4 separate regions of the Homo sapiens genome follow, and regions 2, 3 and 4 are each linked to region 1. Evidence: promoter capture Hi-C in human tissues and cell types (Jung and others, 2019). All regions are on one chromosome and are shown on one strand. The core of a region is centred on a gene start or on the middle of the fragment in contact, and the rest is flanking DNA. Distances in the headings are between cores, read along the strand shown. Region 1 holds the start of TBC1D13 (TBC1 domain family member 13). Region 2 holds the start of C9orf50 (chromosome 9 open reading frame 50). Region 3 holds the start of PTGES2 (prostaglandin E synthase 2). Region 4 holds the start of DNM1 (dynamin 1).

Evidence for each region. The method cuts DNA at HindIII sites, captures the fragments that hold promoters and counts their contacts. A contact is called where the count stands out against the background at its distance.
Region 2: a contact is called between the fragment with the promoter of C9orf50 here and the fragment with the promoter of TBC1D13 in region 1, in 2 of the 25 tissues and cell types used here (pancreas and stomach).
Region 3: the fragment with the promoter of PTGES2 here is called in contact with the fragment with the promoter of TBC1D13 in region 1 in 1 of the 25 tissues and cell types used here (small bowel).
Region 4: the fragment with the promoter of DNM1 here is called in contact with the fragment with the promoter of TBC1D13 in region 1 in 2 of the 25 tissues and cell types used here (dorsolateral prefrontal cortex and liver).

The regions. Positions count from the first base shown.
Region 1 is chr9:128,784,670-128,790,134 of GRCh38, forward strand. It overlaps TBC1D13 (TBC1 domain family member 13), which reads left to right and starts at 2,584. Exons shown (of 12, transcript NM_018201.5): 1 at 2,584-2,707; 2 at 3,665-3,738. The coding sequence starts at 2,685. RefSeq lists a silencer at 2,232-2,721. The HindIII fragment of the contact is 9,895 bases long and covers 1-5,465 here.
Region 2 is chr9:129,618,119-129,623,583 of GRCh38, forward strand. It overlaps C9orf50 (chromosome 9 open reading frame 50), which reads right to left and starts at 2,983. Exons shown (of 7, transcript NM_199350.4): 1 at 1,949-2,983; 2 at 1,622-1,712; 3 at 1,402-1,518. The coding sequence starts at 2,456. It also overlaps a transcript of NTMT1 not described here. RefSeq lists an enhancer at 2,445-3,095. The HindIII fragment of the contact is 8,954 bases long and covers 1-4,531 here.
Region 3 is chr9:128,123,514-128,128,978 of GRCh38, forward strand. It overlaps PTGES2 (prostaglandin E synthase 2), which reads right to left and starts at 4,216. Exons shown (of 7, transcript NM_025072.7): 1 at 3,926-4,216; 2 at 1,731-1,928; 3 at 979-1,037; 4 at 189-338. The coding sequence starts at 4,204. It overlaps PTGES2-DT (PTGES2 divergent transcript), which reads left to right and starts at 5,016. Exons shown (of 1, transcript NR_024425.1): 1 at 5,016-5,465. RefSeq lists enhancers at 3,737-3,816, 4,457-4,576 and silencers at 3,957-4,246, 4,887-5,086, 5,117-5,226. The HindIII fragment of the contact is 32,314 bases long and covers 2,556-5,465 here.
Region 4 is chr9:128,201,272-128,206,736 of GRCh38, forward strand. It overlaps DNM1 (dynamin 1), which reads left to right and starts at 2,108. Exons shown (of 22, transcript NM_004408.4): 1 at 2,108-2,360. The coding sequence starts at 2,200. It also overlaps a transcript of CIZ1 not described here. RefSeq lists enhancers at 1,791-1,890, 3,322-3,894 and silencers at 1,951-2,170, 2,739-3,033. The HindIII fragment of the contact is 10,387 bases long and covers 2,021-5,465 here.

The sequences.
Region 1 (5,465 bases), core at 1,334-3,833:
GTTCAAGACCAGCCTGGCCAACATGGAGAAACCCGTCTCTACTAAAACTACAAAAATTAGCCAGGCATACTGGCGCGCGCCTATAATCCCAGCTACTTGGGAGGCTGAGGTAGGAGAATTGCTTGAACTCAGGAGGCGGAGGTTGTGGTGAGTGGAGATTGCACCACTGCACTCCAGCCTGGGCAACAGAGCCAGACTCCATCTCAAAAAAAAAAAAAAATTAGAAGGCCAGGTGCTGCCAGGCATGGTATCTCACGCCTGTAATCCCAGGATTTTGGGAGGCCGAGGAGGGAGAATAACCTGAGGTCAGGAGTTTGAGGCCAGCCTGGCCAACATGATGAAAACCCGTCTCTACTAAAAATACAAAATTTTTTTTAAATCAAAAAATATAAAAATTAGCCAGGCAGGGTGGCATGAACCTTTAATCCTAGCTACTCGGGAGGCTGAGGCAGAAGAATCGCTTGAACCCGGGAGGCAGAGGTTGCCGTGAGCTGGAGATCACCCCATTGCACTCCAGCCTCGGCAACAAGAGTGAGATTCCGTCTCAAGAAAAAAAAAAAAGAAGGCCAGGCATGGTAGCTCATGCCTGTAATCCCAGCACTTTGGGAGGCCTGAGGTGGGCAGACACTTGAGGTCAGGAGTTTGAGACCAGCCTGGCCAACATGATGAAACCCTATCTCTACCTCAAAATACAAAAATCAGCTGGGCATGGTGGCATGCGCCTGTAGTCCCAGCTACTCAGTAGGCAGAGGTTGCAGTGAACTGAGATTGCGCCACTGCACTCCAGCCTGGGGTGACAGAGTGAGACCATGTCTCAAAAAAAAGAAAGAAGAGTATATATGCATAGCAAACGTGTGAAGAGATGCTCAACATCATATGTCTTTAGGGAAATGCATGTTAAAGCAGGAGATACCACTTCACATCTACTAGAATGTCTAAGATTAAAAAGACTGACCACATCAAGTATTGGTGAGGACGTGGTACAACAGCAACTCTCATATACTGCTGGGGTAGGTGTTAAATAATACAACCATTTTGGAAAATATTTAAGCACTTTCTTTTCTTTTTCTTTTTCTTTTTTTTTTTTTGAGATAGAGTGTCGCTCTTTCGCCCAGGCTGGAGTGCAGTCGTGCAATCTCCACTCACTGCAAGCTCTGCCTCCCAGGTTCATGCCATTCTCCTGCCTCAGCCTCCCGAGTAGCTGGGACTACAGGCACCCACCACCACGCCCGGCTAATTTTTTTCTTTGTATTTTTTAGTAGAGATGGGGTTTCACCGTGTTAGACAGGATGGTCTCGATCTCCTGACCTCATGATCCGCCCTCCTTGGCCTCCCAAAGTGCTGGGATTACAGGCGTGAGCCACCGCGCCTGGCTAGCTGTTTCTTTCTTTTTTTTTTTTTCTCAAGAAAAAGGTGTTAAATAATACAACCATTTCGGAAAATCTTTAAGCAGTTTCTTTTCTTTTCTTTTCTTTTTTTTTTTTTTTTGACAGGGTCTTGCGTTTTTGCCCAGGTTGGAGTGCGGTGGCGCTATTGGAGTGCGGTGGCACTATCTCGGCTCACTGCAAGCTCCGCCTCCCGGGTTCAAGCAATTCTCCTGCCTCAGCTTCCTGAGTAGCTGGGATTACAGTTGTGCGTCACCACACCCGGCTAATTTTTGTATTTTTAGTAGAGACGAGGTTTCACCATGTTGGTTAGGCTGTTCTCAAATTCCTGACCTGGTGATCTGCCCGCTTCAGCCTCCCAAAGTGCTGGGATTACAGGCGTGAGCCACCACGCCCGGCCTACTCAACTAATTTTTACATCTTTTGTAAAGAAGGTAATCTCGAGGAGCTGGGATTACAGGCGCCTGCCACCACGCCCGGCTAATTTTTGCATTTTTGGTAGAGACGGGGTTTCACCGTGTTGGCCAGAGTGGTCTCCAACTCCTGACCTCAAGTGGTCTGCCTGCCTCGTCCTCCCAAAGCACTGGAATTTACAGGGATGAGCCACCGCGCCCGGTCCAGCCTATTTTTCTTAAGATATCATTTGTGTTTTTTTCTTTCTTCCTAACTTACATTTTATAGGGTTTGCTGGTATAGTTTTTATAAAAAAAAAAAAAGTTGGGCCGCGCACGGCGGTTCATGCGAGTCCCTGCTATACAGGCCTTGAGGATTCTGCAGAGACCAAGATAAGCTGGGGGGCCTGAACAGTTTAGCAGGGGAGGCCGAGACTCCTGTAACAATCATGCAGTAGTTAATTACAGGGGGGTGAGTGCAGGGAAGACGACAGGGTGACAGGTATATTGCGTAAGTAGACACTGAGGCCCAGGGAAGCGCAAGGAATAGTCCAGAGACACACAGTCTGCGCTGTCACCGGCGGGTTCTCAAATTTGGCCCGCAGGGTCGGCGGCGCTGGGGCTCCCGGCCCGCGATTGCCACGCCCACCAGACCCGAGGTTGCCCCGCTCAACCCGGCCGGCCGTAGCCGCCAGTACCGTGTGGAAGCGTGAGAGTCGAGGGGTGGCACGTGACTGGCGGGGCGGGGCGGGGCTGAGGCGGTGGAACGCGCAGGCTAGTGGCTGTGTTTCCCGCCGGAGGCTTTTGCGCAGAGCCCCGCGTCCCTGGGGGGCGGCGGCGGCGGCGGCAGCGCAGGCGGCAGAGGCGCAGGCGGCGGAGGCGGCTGGGGGGTCCGGAAGTCAACACCATGTCAAGTCTGCACAAGAGCCGGTAAGGGGCCATGGGGCCTGACCCGGCTGGGCCACTCCTGGCCAGGCTGCCCCTTCTGCCCCTCAGAAGGGGGAAGCGCGGGTGTGGCCAGGAATCGGCAGACCCCCTCGGCAGAGGGTCTCGAGCGTCCACCTTCTAACCTCATTGCCTGTGGGCTGCAGGAACGACGGAGGGGCGGCCCTTCTCCTGCCCCTGATGTCACTGCTTCTGCCTCCCTCATCCTGGACCCCTGGTGTCCCCCTTCCCCTGAGTCTTCCTCATCCAGACCCCCATGCCCCGCCCCCGTGCCTTTCCCCCTTTTGATCCCCCTGCTCCCGTACTCTCTCCAAGTGCACCCTGTCCCCCGTGCCTTTTTCTTACTAGGATTGCTAGAGAACTTGCATTCTCCAGTCTGGCCCCTCCCCCAGGCCAGATCCTGCAGCATTGGCTGAATTTTGCTCACTCTTCAGTTTTCCTTCAGGACGTGTTTTTTAAACCCTTTGTCCTTGCCTTCTGGCAGGCCCAGAGGTCTTGTAATGGTTATATTTGTGAGCATGGTCCATTGTCTGCATATCAAATTACTCCTGGTTCCTGAGGTCCAAGGAGTTCAGTTGGTGGCTGTGCGTGGACCCGGCCTGGCCGGCAGGAAGTGCCCAGTAAATGTCAGCTCACTAAGTATTAGAATGTTGGAATATGTCTAATTTTATGGTCCTCATTTGGGAACTTCTAGACAAGAATATCTCTCAAGTTTCTTCCCTGGCATTCTGTGTTTCTGGTTGTAGAGGAAGAAGTGAAATATAGTTTTGTTGTTCTCCAAAGCTGTCTTTGGTGAGGACCTTGACTAAGCTGTGTGATTTTTATGTCCTAAAGGGGAGAGAGGCACAGGTTGGAAACTGGCAGTGTGAGGGAGCTGAGGGCTGTGGGTCTCACTGAGCCGATATCAGCATGCTTCATTTGCCGCCCTATCTCCCCTTCCAGAATTGCAGATTTCCAGGATGTCCTGAAGGAGCCCTCAATTGCATTGGAAAAGCTGCGGGAACTCAGCTTTAGTGGTAAGAAGCCATTCTGTATTTTCACGGTTTCCCTACAGCAGCCCTGTGGCTAGAATACAGGGGGAGGCCACACCTGGTCAGCTCTGGGGCCCAGCTGCTGGGGGCTGGGGCCTTGGAAGGAAATTACACACAGACTCTTGGGGCCTTTTCCAGATTCTGTAGAGCTGAACAGGCAGTGACTGCCTTGAGCTTGGAGGGGTTTCCCAGAGGGGCAGTGGCCACACTTAGCATGCCCTAAGCTTTCCTAAGCTTTCCGCAGGAGGTGCCAGATTCCTGAGAGTAACAGGACAGGACTGAAGCCTGGAGAATGAGAGTTGGGACCTTTTGAGCCCAGGACAGTCTTTCCTCATTCCTTAGCTAGCTTCCTGTGTTGGTGAGTTTGGTTAACTGCAGGGTTGTTCCTTGTTCTCTCCCTGGCTTGGGGTCTAAGCTGCCTGAACTAAACCTTGGCTAGTGGTAAAATGGGTAGCCTTGGGACACTGACTTTAAGGAGCTGATCCTGCTGTGTTAGACTTTGCCCCAATGAGCACAAAGATAACTCTCTTTTTGCCTGTTTTAAAAAATATCCCAACGTGTTCTGCATAGCTTCTTGTCACTTTTTTGCCCTTGTAACTTTGCCAGCAAGAACTTCTGGCCGGGTGCCGTGGCTCATGCCTGTAATCCCAACATTTTGGGAGGCCAAGGCAGGTGGATCACCTGAGGTCAGGAGTTCGAGAACAGCCTGGCCAACATGGTGAAACCTAGTCTCTACTAAAAATATAAAAAAGTAGCTGGGCTTGGTGGCACTTGCCTGTAATCCCAGCTACTCGGGAGGCTGAGGCAGGAAAATCACTTGAACCTGGGAATTGCAGTGAGCCGAGATTGCGCCATTGCACTCCAGCCTGGGCGACAAGAGTGAAGCTCCATCTCAAAAAAAAAAAAAAAAAAAAGAACTTCTTATATTGTCCCTGTCATCCTCATATAGATTCTGAAGTGGAGGTATTCACTCATGTTCATGGTACCAGGGATACTACAGCAGCAACTGCGGTAGTGAGCTTCCTGATCTTATTGCAGGATAACTTTGTCTTTCTGTTTAGGAGTGAAATATAGGCCCCAAAGGAGAGGCAGTCAGTGTTAGTAGTTAAGAGTTTTACAGATAAGTTTCCTTCTTACGACAATTACGTTAATCTTCCCTACTTACTGGGGTAATAATGAAGATTAAATGAAATAATATCTGTAAAGCACAAAATACTTAGCATTCGTAGCTTAGTTTATATTCCACAAATATGTATGGAATATCTTCTATGTGCAGTGCTCTGTGCTATGCACTGGGAATAATAGATGTGGTTTTTGTCCTTCTGGGGCTTACCCAGTAGTAGGGGTTACAGACGTTAAGAAAATACACCATATATATATATATATATATAATAATTCCACTTATGACAGATGCTATGAAATAGTCACAGAGCCATTATTGCTTATAACAGGGGGAACTGACCTGAATTAGGATGACATGGTGGTGGTAAAGGCTGCTCCTGAGGAAGGAATATCAAGGATGAGAAGGTGTTATCCTCAAAAGAACATTTCAGGCCGGGCATGGTGGCTCACACCTGTAATCTCAGCACTTTGGGAGGCTGAGGCAGGTGGATCACCTGAGGTCAGGAGTTCGAGACCAGCCTGGCCAATATGGTGAAACCCTGTCTCTACTAAAAATACAAAAATTAGCCAGGAGTGGTGGCACACATCTG
Region 2 (5,465 bases), core at 1,733-4,232, 830 kb after region 1:
AATGATATGTTTGTGATGTATTTACTCTCCCTGGTCTTTAAACTCATGGGCAGTGCCATTCACCCTTCACCCCTGCTTAAGCCTGGAGGAATTTTAACCTGGAGGAACTGTTTCTGTCTTCTTTTCCTCCTCTGTTAAAACTATGGTGTCTAGGCCCAGGTAGGTTCCAATTCCTAGGCTCTTCTCTTACCTCCATCCCTTAGTTTTCTCCCAATATTCAACATATAGTAAAACCTAATAAAAGTTAGAGTAAGAAATGGACAAATGATGGTGGGATGGGTAAAATGATGGAAGACTGGGTGGGTGGGTTGATGGGTGGATGGACTGATGGGTGAGTTAATGAAAGGGTCTGAATAGAACTGAACTATGAATGTATGGGTAGATGGACAGATGCGTGGCTGGATGATTATGTAGATGGGTATGTAGGTTTGTGGATGGCTTTATGACTAGATTAGCGATGGACAGTGTCCTGGGTTTACAAGTGGATGGAAGGATTTGTAGATGGTTGGTCATTGGATCAATGGATGGATGGATAGAAGTGTGGGAGTTTTATTTTTTATTTATTTTATTTTATTTTATTTCATTTTTATTTGAGATGGAGTCTCACTCTGTCACCCAGGCTGGAGTGCAATGGCACAATCTCAGCTCACTGCAAGCTCCGCCTCCCGGGTTCACACCATTCTCTCGCCTCAGCCTCCCGAGTAGCTGGGACTACAGGCGCCCGCCACCACGCCCGGCTAATTTTTTGTGTTTTTTTTTTTTTTTTTGTATATTTTTAGTAGAGACGGGGTTTCACCGTGTTATCCAGGGTGGTCTCAATCTCCTAACCTCGTGATCCGCCCACCTCAGCCTCCCAAAGTGCTGGGATTACAGGTGTGAGCCACCGTGCCCTGCCGAAGTGTGGGAGTTTTAGATGGATGACTGGCTAGCTGGTTGGCCAGGTAGATGAATGGATCCACAGGACACCTGATTCATGGGTGGGTGGGTGAGTGAATGTATGGATGGATGGAGTCATGGGTCCATGATAGATTAATGGGTGGACAGAAGGATGGATGGATAGATGGAGAGATTCATGAACGGGTTGTAGAAGACTTGGTTCATGGATGAGATGGATGCAAAGATGGATGGGTGAATGGGAAAATGAATATATGAATAGATTCATGGATGAATTATGTGTTGGTAGAAGACCTCATTAATGGATGGGTTGATTCATTGATGAACTGGCGAATGAATCTTGAATGGGTTGGTAGAAGATCTGATTCACGGACAGCCATATGTAAGGATGGATGAATGGGTAGATAGGTGGATAAATGAATACATTCATGGGCGAAAGAGGAAAGAAAGAAGGAAAGAAATGCCCCTTTCCTCCACTACCCTACCCTTATCCCGCCCATCACTCACTGGTTGGCCTTTCTGACAGTGGTGAATTGTGAGTGATCACCCTTCAGGGGCCCCAGAATAGGTGTCTGCTGGAGCGAAATCTTCGTAAGACTATCCTGGAGGTGCGATGACTGGCCCCTTAAAGACAAACAGGCCACATCTGGCATGAGTGGCCAGGCTGTCCCGCCCTGGAAACATCGATGGCAACCCCGTCCCCACCAAGAAGCGGACTGACGCTTACCACAGGTCTGGGAGGAATGAACAGTTGGGACACCGCGGAGACCCTGGGCAGTGCTCTAATACACCCCTTTGATGTTGCGGTGCTGGGGATGCTGGAGCCAGGAGGAAACAGTTGTGAGCCTTGGCTGGGGGACGGTCCTTTCTAGTCATGTGGCCTCGGGGTGATGGCAGACCAGCCCTCAAGGACGGGTTGCGAGGGCTCTGAGATACTCAGCTAACATTAGCATCCTTCTAGCCTGGGTGGTGGGGTGGTGGGTGCGGGGACACAAGGGACCACCCCCCACCGGAAATGACTCGGGCCCGCCCCCCGGGCCCCGCGGGGCCTCACTCAGTGGCTCCGGCTCCTCGGCGCACTTCTCCTGGAGCTGGTGCAGGAACTCACGGAACCTGCTGGGGAGGAGCTCTCCTAGGAAGGCGCCCAAGAAGTCGGGGTCCTCCCTGGCCACGCGCCTCCGGGGGCGCTCGCGCTCTCCAGGCCCTGGCTGCCTGGGCGCCGATTCCCGGGACGCGCCGGCCGACAGCAGGGGAGGCGGCAGCAGGGACCGCAGCAGCCCCCGCTTCCGCACGGCCCGCCGGGTCGCGGTGAGCAAGGCGGGCAGGCGCGGCGGGAGGCGTCCGACGCCCACCCCGGGCTTGGCGTCCCCTTCCGGCCACCACGCGGCGCCGCCCCCCGGGATCCTCCAGTCCCCGGAGCCCCGCGCGCCCAGAGCCGCTCGGAGCGCGGGCGGGGTCAGCTTGGGCAGCCGCGGGTCGCTGCTGCGTCGGAAGTCTCCGTCGCCAGGGAGCCCCTTGGGCGCCAGGTCCTGGGCCCCTGGGCGAAGTCGACGCCAGAACATGCTTGGCCCCGCACTCAGCTCACCGCACCCTCAGCGCGCGTGGGTGGGGGGCGCCGGCTGAGGTGGGGAGGGCATAGTCCAGCCCCAGGCCATAGTGCCCCGGGCGGGGCAGCGCGGTGCGGGGTGAACGCCACCGGCCCGGCGGACAGCGAGTGGCTTCAGGCGAGAGCTCCCAGAGCCTCTGTTTCCTCACCTGAAAAATGGTGACAGCAAGAGTAGCCAACTTTGGGGGTTGCTGTGACGTTTAAATGAGCAAGTACATGCCAGTCTTAGAACAGCAAGCTCGGTACAGTGCCAGGCACGCTGGCCAAGCTTACACATAGACTAGCTGCCATTCTTAGTATTTCAAAGTTATTATTATTTAGGATTTAGTCCCAGCTCCACCACTTATTAGCTTTGTAACCTTGGCCAAGCCAATTAACTTCCCTCTGCCTTCCCTGGGGGCTCTGGTCTGCAGAATGGGGATAATAGCAGCACCTGCCTCTCTGCAGCCGTGAAACGGCATCACCGCATCACCGCTGGTAGAGAGAGCACTTAGCCTGCCTTGCAGTGTTCAAAGCGTGGAACTGTTACCGTCATTAGCGCTCTACTGGGAATTAGGAAACCTGGAACCAGCTTGAGGGAAGAGAGACCTGACCAGCAGCCTCCCAGCCCTGGTGCTGCCTCAGAGACCCCTGGGTGGGGAGCCTGTTGAAAATACAGATGACTTACCCCCAGCCCCCATTCTGATTCAGTACGTCTCTGCTGGAGCCAAGACAGTTTGTTGTTCTTGTTGTTGTTGTTAAAGAGATGGGGTCTTGCTAAGACGGGGTCCTGCTGTCACCCAGGCTGGAGTGCAATGGCACCATCATAGCTCACTGCAGCCTCAAATTCTTGGGCTCAAGTGATCCTCCTGCCTCAGCCTCCTGAGTAGCTGGGACTACAGGCACACACCACCACAGTTGGCTAATTTTTGTATATTTTGTAGAAATGGGGTAGAATTTTTTTGTATTTATGTTGCACGGGCTGGTCTTGAACTCCTGGGCTCAAGTGATCCACTTGCCTTGGCCTCCCAAAGTGCTGGGATCACAGGCGTGAGTCCCCACTTCTGGCCAAGACACAGACTTTTAACAAACTCCCCCTTTGGGAGGCAGAGCCCCAGTCTTACTCCCAGCTCTGACACTGAGGGGTTTCTAAGCCTGCTTCCTCCCAACCACACCCCACTCCCAGATTGTTGTCAGCTCTGAGCTGACTCCTGGGCAGTGTCACACTCACCCTGGTGGGCTTCTGGGTGGGGCCCTAGAAGGTCCTGTGAGTTTAGAGCTCTCTACAGGCAGGCTGTAGAGCCCATCATCCCTGCCTGGTGCCTCTCCCAGCCCCTCCCGGCTGCCTCTGGGCCGCTTCAGGGTCATTGTGATCCGCCCCTCACCCCTGGGCATCTGAGTAGCAGTGGGCACTGAGGCCTGGGGACTAAGGGTGGGGCTATTGTGCCCTGGATGCCCTGGCCGCAGCCACCTGGGGCACTGGGACTCTGACCAGGGCAGCCAGGCCTACCCTTTCCAGATCTGGGAGGCTTAGGCTGGGTGGCTCTGGAAGTAGAACTTCCACCCCAAGACCAGGCAGTCAGAATACAATGGACCTAGAAATGAACAGACCCTGCGGGGCACGGTGTCTCACGCCTGTAATCCCAGCACTTTGGGAGGCCGAGGCGGGCGGATCACCTGAGGTCAGAAGTTCAATACCAGCCTGGCCAACATGGTGAAACCTCGTCTCTACAAAAAATACCAAAATTTGCCATGCATGGTGTTGTGCACCTATAATCCCAGCTACTTGGGAGGCTGAGACAGGAGAATCGCTTGACCCTGGGAGGCGGAGGTTGCAGTGAGCTGAGATCATGCCACTGCACTCCAGCCTGGGTGACAAAGCGAGACTCCATCTCAAAAATAATAATAATAATAATCCAAGGTCTGGGTGCTAGGTGTGCTTCTTGCTATTGAGATGTCATTTCTTTCAGGCAGTCTCAGCTGACAAAGAAATGTGTGTGTATACTATGAAACACACACATATCTATAAATATTTCTATAGGTAACCATCTGTACTTATATTAAGCTAAACATGAGCTCATGCTGACATCTCCAACTCTAATCCGTTACACAGATCATTTGAGACTCTGTCTCACAAAAAAAAAAGAGGCCAGGTTCCAGTGGCTCATACCTGTAATCCTAACACTTTGGGAGACCGAGGCAGGTGGATTGCCTGAGCTCAGGAGTTCGCAATCAGCCTGGGCCACATGGTGAAACCCCGTCTCTACTAAAATACAAAAAAATTAGCCGGGCGTGACAGCGTGTGCCTGTAGTCCCAGCTACTTGGGGGGCTGAGGTAGGAGAATTGCTTGAACCCGGGAGGCGGAGGTTGCAGTGAGCCGAGATCACGCCACTGCACTCCAGCCTGGGCAACAGAGTGAGACTCCATCTCCATAAAAAAAAAAAGAAAGAAAGAGCCGGGCACGGTGGCTCACGCCTGTAATCCCAGCACTTTGAGAGGACAAGGCGGGTGGATCATGAGGTCAGGAGATCGAGACCATCCTGGCTAACACGGTGAAACCCTGTCTCTACTAAAAATACAAAAAATTAGCTGGTTGTGGTGACGGGTACCTGTAATCCCAGCTACGCGGGAGGCTGAGGCAGGAGAATGGCGTGAACCCAGGAGGCGGAGCTTGCAGTGAGCGGAGATCGCGCCACTGCACTCCAGCCTGGGCGACAGAGCAAGATTCCATCTCAAAAAAAAAAAAAGAAGGAAGGAAGGAAGGAAGGAAGAAAAGAAATTAACAGACCCACTTTCAAGTCCATGGTCTGCTGTTTTGCTGTGTGATCCTGGAGAAGTGTCTTCTTTCTCAGGACTCCCTGGGCCTTATCTCTGAGTCTTGGCTGGGAGAGGGCCGAGAGGAAGCTCATAGTATTGTGAAGCTGGGGTGGGAGACAGAGGTCATTTACATGAGTATTTCACTGGCGTGGCATAGTTTCATAATTT
Region 3 (5,465 bases), core at 2,966-5,465, 660 kb before region 1:
GGGATTACAGGAGTGAGCCACCACGCCCGGCTGCAGGAAGGTCTCTACTGAAATCCGGCATGGCCCGGCCCCAGCCCCGCTGGTCTCCCATGCTGCTCCCTGCTCACGCCATCTTGCTCAGCTTGGTCCTACTCTACAGAAGACCCCTGCGGTCACCACCTTCCCCCGCCAGCCCCAGCCCCACTCACGTCCTGGCCTCCTTCCCACCATACACTTGCTGGGCCTCCTTCTCGTTGAGCATGAGCCAGTACTTATTGCCGAACTCGGTCACCTCCTTGCCCTGCTCGTTCACAGCCTTCATGGCTGGGTAGTAGGTGATGATCTCTTCCAGGGGCTGCCTTCGGAGAGAGCCACAATATCACCCCAACTCCTTCCCCCTCCGTCCCCTGTGGCCGACCAACCCCGCTGCCCCAGCCTCAGAGTGGAGCCAGGACCAACAAAGGCTCTCCGGACTCTTGCAGTAAGAGGGATTTGGAGTAGATGCCAGGGCTACCTCCCCAAGAGAGGGAGGTGTGGGGAGGACAAAGTAGGGGGCTTGGAGGAGGACGGCCACGGGCTACTCTGGAAAATCATTTTTTTTTTTTTTTGAGACGGAGTCTCGCTCTGTCACCCAGGCTGGAGTGCAGTGGCACGATCTTGGCTCACCGCAACCCTCTGCCTCCCGGGTTCAAGCGATTCTCCTGCCTCAGCCTCCTGAGTAGCTGGGACTACAGGCACTCGCCACTATGCCTGGCTAATTTTTGTATTTTTAGTAGAGATGGAGCTTCGCCATGTTGGCCAGGCTGGTCTGGAACTCCTGACCTCAGGTGATCTGCCTGCCTCGGCCTCCCAAAGTGCTGGGATTACAGGTGCGAGCCACTCTGTACTCTGGAAATCTAAGCAGCAGCTCCACGTGCTCCCAGGAGGGAACTCAGGGGAGGCCTCCCTGGAGGAAGCCACCAAAAGCAATGGCCACCTGGTCTCCGAGGGGCTCCTTACCCCGACACCAGGTAGGTCTTGAGGGCGCTGATGATGACAGAGGAGTCATTTAGTTGTTGCTGGAAGAGAAAAGGGTGGTTTAATCAGAGGTTGCAACCCAGCCGCTGGGAGTCACCAGGGGCTCTTTAACAAGACACTCTGGGCATTGTTTATCCATTCCTGGGGACATGCCCGGAGTCCTCCCCGCCCTGCCCTCAGGGCACCCATCCTAAGTAGGGAGACGTGGTTGTGGCCAATGGGGAGGAAGGTGTGGGAAAGCCGTGGGGTCTAAGCCCCAGCCCACTCACCCATTTGGCCTCCCAGGTAGAGGGGCAGGGTGGGTTCTGGAAGCTACATACTAGACCCCAAGCACTGTGCCAGGCATTTCATATCTGCCGTCCCTGCAAGCCAGAATATGGTCCCTTGTTGACTCATGAAGCAAGCAAGCGCAGAGAGGCTAAGTGACTTGCCCCAAGTCACACAGCTAGTGAGTGGGTGAATCACACCTCAAACCCAGATCGCTGATTTCAGAATCTATGTTGTTAAGCTGTGGTGTTCTGCCTCCCTGAGACCCAGCAGGTGTTTGGTTTTGGTACGGAAGGAGAGAGCCTACATTTATTGAGCATCTACCGTATGCAGCTACTTCCCCCATAGTCCTTACAGGCACAAGGATCACAAGTTCCTTCCCAGGCTGCAGAGCCAGGCCAGGCTAGGGGGCGCTCCAGGACAACCCAGGAAAGGAGGAAGGATGCAGGGGGTTCCCTGGGGCTCACCGAGCTTTCTCCTTCCTGGGCCACCAGGATGGGCACCTTTCTGTAGGAGGAGAACTTGATCTCAGCCCTGCGCACAGGGTTCACCTCCACCACCTGGTAGGGCAGGGCATGGAAGTCGAGGAAGGCTCGGACCTTGCTGCAGAAGGGACACGTCTTGTACTGGTACAGGGTCAGCTGCAGGCGGCTGGACAGGGAGAGCTGCGGGCAGCAGACGGAAAAGGCTTCTAGACCTGGCACCCCCAGGCCCAGGCCCTGCCCCCAAGGGTGTTTTCCAGAGGAGTCTTCTGAAATGACGCTAGAACATCGGGAAGAGGAACTAGAGATGGAAGGGGGCGGTAGGGGAAAGGGAGGCACTGGACAGCAGCCCAGGTTTAAGCCCCTGGCCAGCACGGTCCCCAAGCAGGAGTCCCACCCTTTGCTGCGAGGTTGTGTAGGAGGAATCTTCTAGTCTCTGTCCCATACTGGACAGACCCCTCTTTTCTCACTCCAGTCCCAAGGGGACACCAGACAGCCCCAGGGTATACACCCCACTCCCACAGACATGGAACAACTGTTTCAACTTGACTTGTTCACTCTCACTCCTCTAACCCCAGGGACCTCTGGGGGCAGAGCTGGGCTACCACCCAGGCTCATGTTCACCAGTGGGGTCTACCTCCAATCTCTTTCTTGTTTTTTTCTCTGGAGACAGGGTCTCACTCTGCCATCCAAGCTGGAGTGCAGTAGCTTGATCACAGCTCACTGCAGCCTTGAACTCCGGGGTTCATGTGATCCTCCAGCCAAAGTCTATCTCAAATATCCGAGGGGGAGGGTGGTATCTGAGCCAAGGCCTGCGTGTGGCAAGCTCCGCAGGAAAGCCCCCAGGGGAGCCTGCTGCACGTTCATGCCGGGAAGCCACAACTGTAGACCATCCCCCTGTGTTCAGAGGGGAAGCTGGACCGTGGAGGCAGGAAGGGAGACACAGAGTACTCCATGCCCTTTTTACCCACCTCTGTTCCCTCTGGTCCAGCAAATAAGCATCTGTGGGCGGGTGGTGGGAAGTCAAGTAATGAAGAGTTGCAAGGTGTGGGGTAGGTATAAAGTGTCTCAAGGCAGCTGGGCCACCACTTAGGGGGTCACCACTTGGGGGGGGCACCTTTCTACCTCTTCCTGTTTCAGCCTGGAGTCTAAGTCATCAGTTCCATAAAGGTACCACCACTACTACTAAATAAATACACAGCCTTAGGATTTGGGGGCAGTGGGGAGAGAGGATGATGAACGTTTGGAAAGTGAAAAAGGCTTTCCCTTTCCTGTGATCTCCCATCTCTTAATCAAAAAAGTCTTAAAACACGGTAGAGGCTGGGCTCCGTGGCTCACACCTGTAATCCCAGCACTTTGGGAGGCCGAGGCGGGTGGCTCATTTGAGGTCAGGAGTTCGAGACCAGCTTGGCCAACATGGTGAGACCCCCGTCTCTAGTAAAAATACAAAAATTAGCCGGGCTGGGTGGCAGGCGCCTGTAATCCCAGCTACTGGGGAGGCTGAGGCAGGAGAATTGCTTGAACCCAGGAGGCGGAGGTTGCAGTGAACCGAGATCGCGCCACTGCACTCCAGCCTGGGCAACAGAGCAAAAAAAAACTCCGTCTCAAAAAAAAAAAGTCTCCTTAAAACATGGTAAAGGCTGGGCGCAGTGGCTCACGCCTGTGATCCCAGCACTTTCAGAGGCCAAGGTGGGCGGATCACTTGAGGCCAGGAGTTCGAGACCAGCCTGGGCGACATGGTGAAACCCTATCTCTACAAAAAATACAAAAATTAGCAGGGCGCAGTGGGGTGAGCCTATAGTCCCAGCTACTCGGGAGGCTGAGGCAGGAGGATCCCTTCAACCTGGGAGGCAGAGGCTGCAGTGAGCCGCGATCGCACTCCAGCCTGGGCGATAATGCGAGACCCTGTCTCGAAAACATAAATAAACAAACCAAAAAAAAAAAAAAAAAAAAAACCACGGTAGAAGAACGATTTTATGAGAACTCGAACAATTCCAGGTAGTAGGCATCAGGAGTGCCCCTATTTTACACAAAAGAATACAGAGGGTTCGGAGACTTCAGACCAAGTCACTCGCCCAAGGTCACAAGCAGGCAGAGGCAACTCCTGACCCTGCGGGTTCCCAGGAGTCCCGAGTTCGGCGCTGATCAGCATCCCCATCCCCGGCCGGGCCAGGCCTTACCTGCGCGGCTGAGCGCTCTGCGTGGAGGTCCTGGGCGCGCAGGTGCCACCGCGCCGTGTGGTACAGCCCCAGGGCTCCCCCCAGGGCCAGCGCCGCAGCTCCCAGCAGCCGCGGGCTCCCCTTACGAGCTGCAGCCACGGGGCTCGGGCCGCCCGCCGCCCCCGCGAAGCCAGCCCGGCTCTGCGTGGGTAGCAGCGGCTGGGGGCGGCCTCCCAGCCTCCAGGCCAAGGCGCACCCACCAGGCCACAGCGCCCGCACCACCCGCGCAGCCGGGTCCATGTTCGCTCCGCCGGCGCCGCGGGCGGGCGCGCGAAACGAAGACGCCGAGGCACGCGCGGCGTTTAAAGGGCCAGGACTCTGGCGCCCCGCGGGTTGGCCGGGGTGAGGGCGACGCTAAGGGAACCCTCAGCGCTCTCGGGACTGGGCGTGTGCCCGGCGCCCAAGTTCGAAACGCCCGCCAGAGCCGCAGAGGCCCGCTCGGGAACGTTTGCAGACCGTTCCATGCTTCCGCCTCCAAAGGCTCTTGGGTAGTGACCCGGCCGACTGCAGGGGGGCGAACGTCTCCTCGCCCCACCTTGACCGCCTAAAGGGCGGCGTGGCCGTCTGTAACACGTACTTGCCCACCTCTCTTACGGGCGCCCATTCAAAACAACTCCAGCCCTTCCTAGAGTCAGTACAGGCGCCGCGACTTCCGGCCACTGAAAGCCCCGGAAACGACCCGACCCGGCACCAGGTGTTGCGGTTCTCTCTGCCCTCCCGCCTCATTGTCCGCTTCCTACTGTGACCCGAACCATAAAATTTTCCCGAACCCGAAGGGGCCTTGGAAACCACGTGTCTCTGATTTCGCCCACGCGAAGCGGCCGGCCCGCCGACCCCGAGATTTCCAGGGAGAGGATGGCAAAGTGGGGTGCCAGGCTGCTCGGTCCTTCTGCTGGGCTCCCCCGCCCTAGCTGAAGCCCGGAGCCTCCACCGCATAGGCGTCTCCGCGGACAGCCCCGGGATGGCCCCGCCCGGCGCCCGAGAGGGGGCGGGACTCGCAGAGTGGGCGGGGAGAGGGGCGGGGCGAGGGGGGAGCTCTGAGTCCCGGCTCTGCTGCTCCGCCGCGTCCCACTCTTCTCGCTCCGCTTTCGCCCCGCATCTTCCACCTTCCTTCCAGTCCTTGCGGCGACCGAGCCCGCAGTGTCAGTCCCCAGCGGGGACCTGAGTATGCCGGTGAAGACGAGAGCGGAAGGCGAGGACGACGGCTTCGGGGAAGCGGGTGACCCGAGGAGACTGCTGGAGCGACCTTGGCGTTTCCGGGGGTGCCTTCCCGGGAAGGGGAATCGGGATGTTGGCTTCGAAGGGACCGAAGGGCCCACCTCGACCCGCCCCGAGTGGGTTTGGAGTTGTAGGTGCTGTCTCGGATGCAGGGCGAGCACCCGCGAGCGGGTAACCAGTCCCGTGAGAGCTGCAGGTCCCCAGCCCCGTTTTACAGATAGGGAAACTGAGGCAGCTGCTGGGACACTCGCCCATATGGGTTTTGCTCCACCCACTTCCTTCA
Region 4 (5,465 bases), core at 858-3,357, 580 kb before region 1:
AACAAACAAACAAACAAAAAATACAAAAATTAGCTAGGAGTGGTGGCACGTGCCTGTAGTCCCAGCTACTCGGGAGGCTGAGGCAGGAGAATCGCTTGAACCCAGGAGGCAGAGGTTGCAGTGAGCTGAGATCATGCCACTGCACTCCAGCCTGGCGACAGAGTGAGACTCCGTCTCAAAAATAAATAAAATAAATAAGTAAATAAATAATATTAAAAGCCCAGCCATGATGCCCTCTAGGCAAACATCTATAAACTGCACCCCCTCCTGGTGCCAGTCATCCAGGCTTCCATCTCTGCCTTCTCTTGTCCTCAGAGCATAATAACAGGTTGGCATGGAACAGCTGCCAGGTTCCATGCAAGTTGTGTGGCACTGATGCTCCAGCTGTCTGGTGAGCTGTTATCATTGGCATCCTCACAGCTGCAGCTTAATAAGGGCCCCCTGAGCACTAGGCCTGGGCTGTGCCCTACACAGGCATTTGATCTATTATTATCCCCATTATCCAGATTAGTTAACTGAGGTTCAGAGACGTGGAGGGACCTGGGTCACGCAGCTTGTTTAAGGCCCAGATTAGACTCCTAATCCACTCTCTGGTGCTACCAGGGAGAGGGCCTGCTTGTTCCCCATGCCTGCCTCGAAGATTCCTCCCCACAAGGGTCACTCTCTGATCACCATCTTCACAATAGCAACACCACCCTACCCCGCCCCTGCTTTCTTGCTCTGCAGGGCACGCCATCTAACAGGGCCATCGTTATTGCCCTATTTGCATATTGTCTGTCTTTTTCCACTGAATTGTCAGCCACATGTGGGTAAGGACTTTGTCCGTTTTGCTCACTGCTTTATCTCTGGAGTCTAGCATAGTACCTGGCTCAACAAATACGCATTAAATGGATGAGTAAGTGAACAGTCTCCAATTCACAGACCACTTTGTCAGCAGTGCCCCCACACTGTTCACAGCGCAGGGAAATGACTCACCGACTCCCCATGAGCACAGTGTAGGCTAGCCTTCCCTTCCTAGCCTCCACCGTGAATACTAATTAGGTTTCTTAAATGCAGAGATGGACGGCTGGGCTCAGGGCCCCATGGTCTGTCTGTGTGAAAGGGTACGCAGGGTAGGATTGTAGGAGCCCTGGATTTGAATCCCACTGTTTTACGCTGTTTTACCACCATCCTGATGGGTTGGAGCAAAGACTTCCACTCTCTAGGACAAGAGCTTCCAACTCTCCCAAGAAGGGCCCTCCAGGTGTCAGGGCCTCTGCACTTGCTGGTCATTCAGCCTGGCATGCTCTTCCCCTGATCTGCTTGCTGCTGGCTCCTTCTCATCATTTTGGTCTCTTCTCAAATGTCACTTCTGCAGAGAACACCCCCGACTCCTGCCAAGCCAATGTGAACTTTCCACACCCACAAAGATACCTTTTTTCACCCTGTTTATTTCCTCCATCCCTCTTACTATGAATTATTTTCATTTTTACTATTTCATTTATCTGCTTACTTATTTACTGTCTGTCTCCCCAGCTTGATGCAAGATCTATGAGGGCAGAGGCCTTGGCTGTCTTATTCGTTGCTGAATCTTCAGTGCCTAGGACAGGGCCTGGCTTCTAGCAGGTACCTAGTAAATATTTGTTGAATTCATGTTCCAACTTTCTCCTTCTAGAAACAAGGAAACTGAGGACCAAAGGCAGAAGAGGACATGTTGGAGATCAGAGTCAGGATCTAGGGATAGAAGCCAGCGAGATGAAGGGGAACTCATCTCGGAGTTCTGACCTCTGAGGTCAGGAGGCTGTGACCTCAGAGGAAGCCCATCTGCTCTCCAGGCCTGTTTCCTCATCGGTAAGATGGAGTGAAACATCCAGACCACTCTCCAAGAGGCCTGGTACTAGGAGTGAGACCCAACCCATTGACAAATATATTCTGCGCAGCATCCGCGCACCCCAGACACTGCTAAAGCACCCCAAAAGCCGCAGAAGGTGAAAACTACGACACCCATGATGCCCCGGACGGCGCCTGCGCACGGCGGCCGGCCCGCAGCGCCGCGGGCTCCCCCTAGCGGCGTCCGGGAGCGGTGCTCGCTCCGATCCCCGAGGGGCGGGGGCCCCGCGGCGCAGGCAGTCTGGGCGCGCGGCTGCAGCGGCGGAGCCGGAGTCGGAGCCGGGAGCGCTAGCGGCAGCCGGATCGCAGCCTGCGGGGCCCGCCGCAGCCATGGGCAACCGCGGCATGGAAGATCTCATCCCGCTGGTCAACCGGCTGCAAGACGCCTTCTCTGCCATCGGCCAGAACGCGGACCTCGACCTGCCGCAGATCGCTGTGGTGGGCGGCCAGAGCGCCGGCAAGAGCTCGGTGCTCGAGAATTTCGTAGGCAGGTAGGCGCGGCGCGCCCCCAGGCGCCGACCCCCGACCCCCGGGATCCCTGGAGTCCCCGCCCGGGGCACTGACGGCGCGGCGACCTCGCAGCCCCCGACGCTGCACCCGCGGCCGGCGCGCCCCCCACCCCCAGCCGGAGCGAGGAGGCCCTCCCCCCACCACGAGAGCCCCTCGGGGCAGCAGCGCCCCCCGCTAGTCTGCAAACGTCGTCAAGCCTCCGGCTACCGAATCACGCCCCCTCCTCCGTCCCATCCTTTAGGGCAGACAACGCTCTGCCAGAAGCCCCGGGCAAAGAGCTGCCCCCCGCCCCCAACATGGGCATGGAGAGAGCCCGCATTACTCAGCGTCTCCGTTGGGCTCCGGGAGTCCCTTGGAGCGGGCAGCACCCGGGGGCAGCGTCCCCCACACCGGGCTCAATGGGGGACATCCCCCTACCCCCATGGGAATTCCTGGGCCGTGGCAGAGGTCAGCCCCCGCATCCCAGTCCCTAGAAGAGGACGTAGTCCCGCGGGCATCGAGGACCGGGCACGGCCTCCCGCCAGCACACACACACCTCTGCGGCTCCCGCCGCCATCCGTGCGCAGCGCGGCGAGGGGGGAGGCGCGGGCTGCAGGATGAGGAAGGGAAGAGGGGAGGAGAAACCACTTCTTATCCTTTTCTGAGCAGCCGGCCCCTTGCTTCGCCACGGCCCCTGGGTGGGGGGCGCCTGTCAGTGTCGCCCTCCCCTTGGCCTGGCCAGAGGAATCGTGTTGGAGGGAGAGGCGGCAGAGGGCAGAGATGACTAAGACAGGGATGGCGGGAGGGGGGAGCCATTTGCAGAACCTAATCCCCCTCCCGCCTCTGATCCCACAAGGCGCTGAGAGGCCTAGGTGGCGGAGAGAGGAACAACCGCAAAGACAAAGGGTCGTGGGTTTAGCGGGGCAGGCAGGGTCGTGACCCGCAGGCTCCCCACAAACCCCCAAAGGGAGGCAGAAATAGTTTTTCTGGTGCTGAGGAGAGAGAAGAAAGATAGGAGCTCTCCAGGTACTGGAGGTGGGTTGGGGGGCTGGGCAGACTGGGGGATGAAGTGAGAGAGTTTACACTGACCCCGTCTTTCATCTCCCCCCCATCTTCTTCAGAAACTCTTGCTTTCTTCCAATGACCTTCAGGGCCAAAAAAGTGACTGGCACATGGGAGAGGGAGGCAGGGGCCCTTGTCCGCAGAGGTACAGCAGTTCTGTCCAAGCCAGGTTCTGCTGCAAAACCTCAGGCAAGTCACTTGCCCTCTCTGAGCCTCAGTGTCCCCATCTCTAACATGGACAGTGGGACTGGGTGGTTGTTCCTGCCCCTCAAATGTCCTGGGAAACCCATGCCAGCCCTAGAGGTGAGAGGGAGAGGGCCTGACTGGAGCCATGTGTGTGTGGGACGTTGGAAGGCCACCGTGGGGGCGGCCGTGCCCATCTGGTCAGCAGAGGGGAAGGCATCTGTCTCTCCAATGGCTCCTGCAGAGCCCCCCTTCTGATCACATGACCCCCGGAGCTGCAGAGACACAGGCAAGAGACACACCACGGGCCCCTTCCCCAAGGGCCAGCAGTCAGGGATATCCAGCAGTTTAGAATGGAGAAACCATATTCCTACCTCTCGTCCTTTGAATGTTGGCTGAACTCCTGCCCCATGCCAGGCTGCGTGCTTCAGGCTTGGGGTAGGGAGGGGACCAACTGGTGATTTCAGCCCGCATCTACTGAGCCCATCCCATGCATCCCCCTATGCTGAGTCCTTCATAGGCTCACAGGAGCTCCCAAGAGGCAGGTACCATGATGCCCATCCTACAGATGAGGAAACTGAGACCCTGGAGGTTAGATGCCTTGCCCAAGGTCACACATTCAGAAAGGGCAGCAGCTGTTAGACTCCAAAGCCCAATTCCTAATCTCGACGCTGCACATCCTCTGACAGCCGGGTCCTGCACCAGGCACAGGGACGTGTGGGTGGGTGGGCCTCCATTTCCCCATCTGCGGAATGGAAACGCTGACAGCCGCTGCCCTGCCTTCCTGAGAAGGTGACTGTGGGCTCCACCGAGTTCATGGGTGGAAAGGTGCTTTTGTAAACATGCGGGAGGGGGCGCTGATAGCCAATTAGGCTTGGGGACCTGCATGCCCAGCCCCTGCCTTCCTGGAGCCCATGACGCAGGGGCCATCCCTGACCACAGCAGATTTCATCGAGTACTTGCTTGTTGAGTGGTGGAGCAAGGTTTGGACCGTGCCCCAGGAGGCCTGGGCCCTCTGGCTGCCCTCTCCACCCCAATGCCCTTGGCCGTTGTCCCCACAGGAGGATGTGCAGGGTGTCCAGATGCAGGCCCAGGGCAGGGGAGGGGGCTTAGGTTGATGTGAAGGAGTAGGCAGAAAAGCATTCATGATCCTCTGAAAGCTAGTGAGAAGGCCAGGGAAACTGAGGCTCAGTGGGTTCCACTGTCTCAGCCTGCCAGCTCCCTCAAGGGCTCCTGACCTCTCCAACAGGGCTCAGTCCCCAGACTGGTGAGCATAGTAACAGCCATTCTGTCTCCTGGGGCTTCCCAGGAGCCAATCCCCAACAGAAAATGCTTCACAGGAAAATGCATCAGGGCTGCCCCAGGCCCACCCGGGCTTCTGGGTGCTCAGGAGGATCCTGCTGTCAACTCTGCAATGGAGGTAGCCTTGCAGCTGCCTGGGATGCTGCTAGAACTTGTCTGGGTCTATACTATTTCTTCACCCCCTTCCCTTTTACAGAAGGGAAAACTGAGGCCAATTCATTCAGTCATTTAGCAAACATTTGTGGAGGGTGCACGATGTCTCAGCACTGGGGATTCTATGGTGGAAAAGACCAAGACTCTGCACTGCAGAGGGAGAAACTCAGAAGACAACTGGAAAATGTGGTGAACGTCAGGGAGGGGAGTGGGGCTGCTCTCCCCAGGGAGGTCAGAGGTCTCCAGGAGGAGGTGGCATCTGAGATGAGAACCAAGGGATGAGAAGCTGTGTAACTTGCCAGGGGCGGGAGAGTTCCAGGCCAAGGGAAAGGTGCAAAGGCCCCGGGGTAGCAAAGAATTTGGTGCCTTTGAAGAACAGAAAGGAGACCCTGTAGCTGGTATTCAGC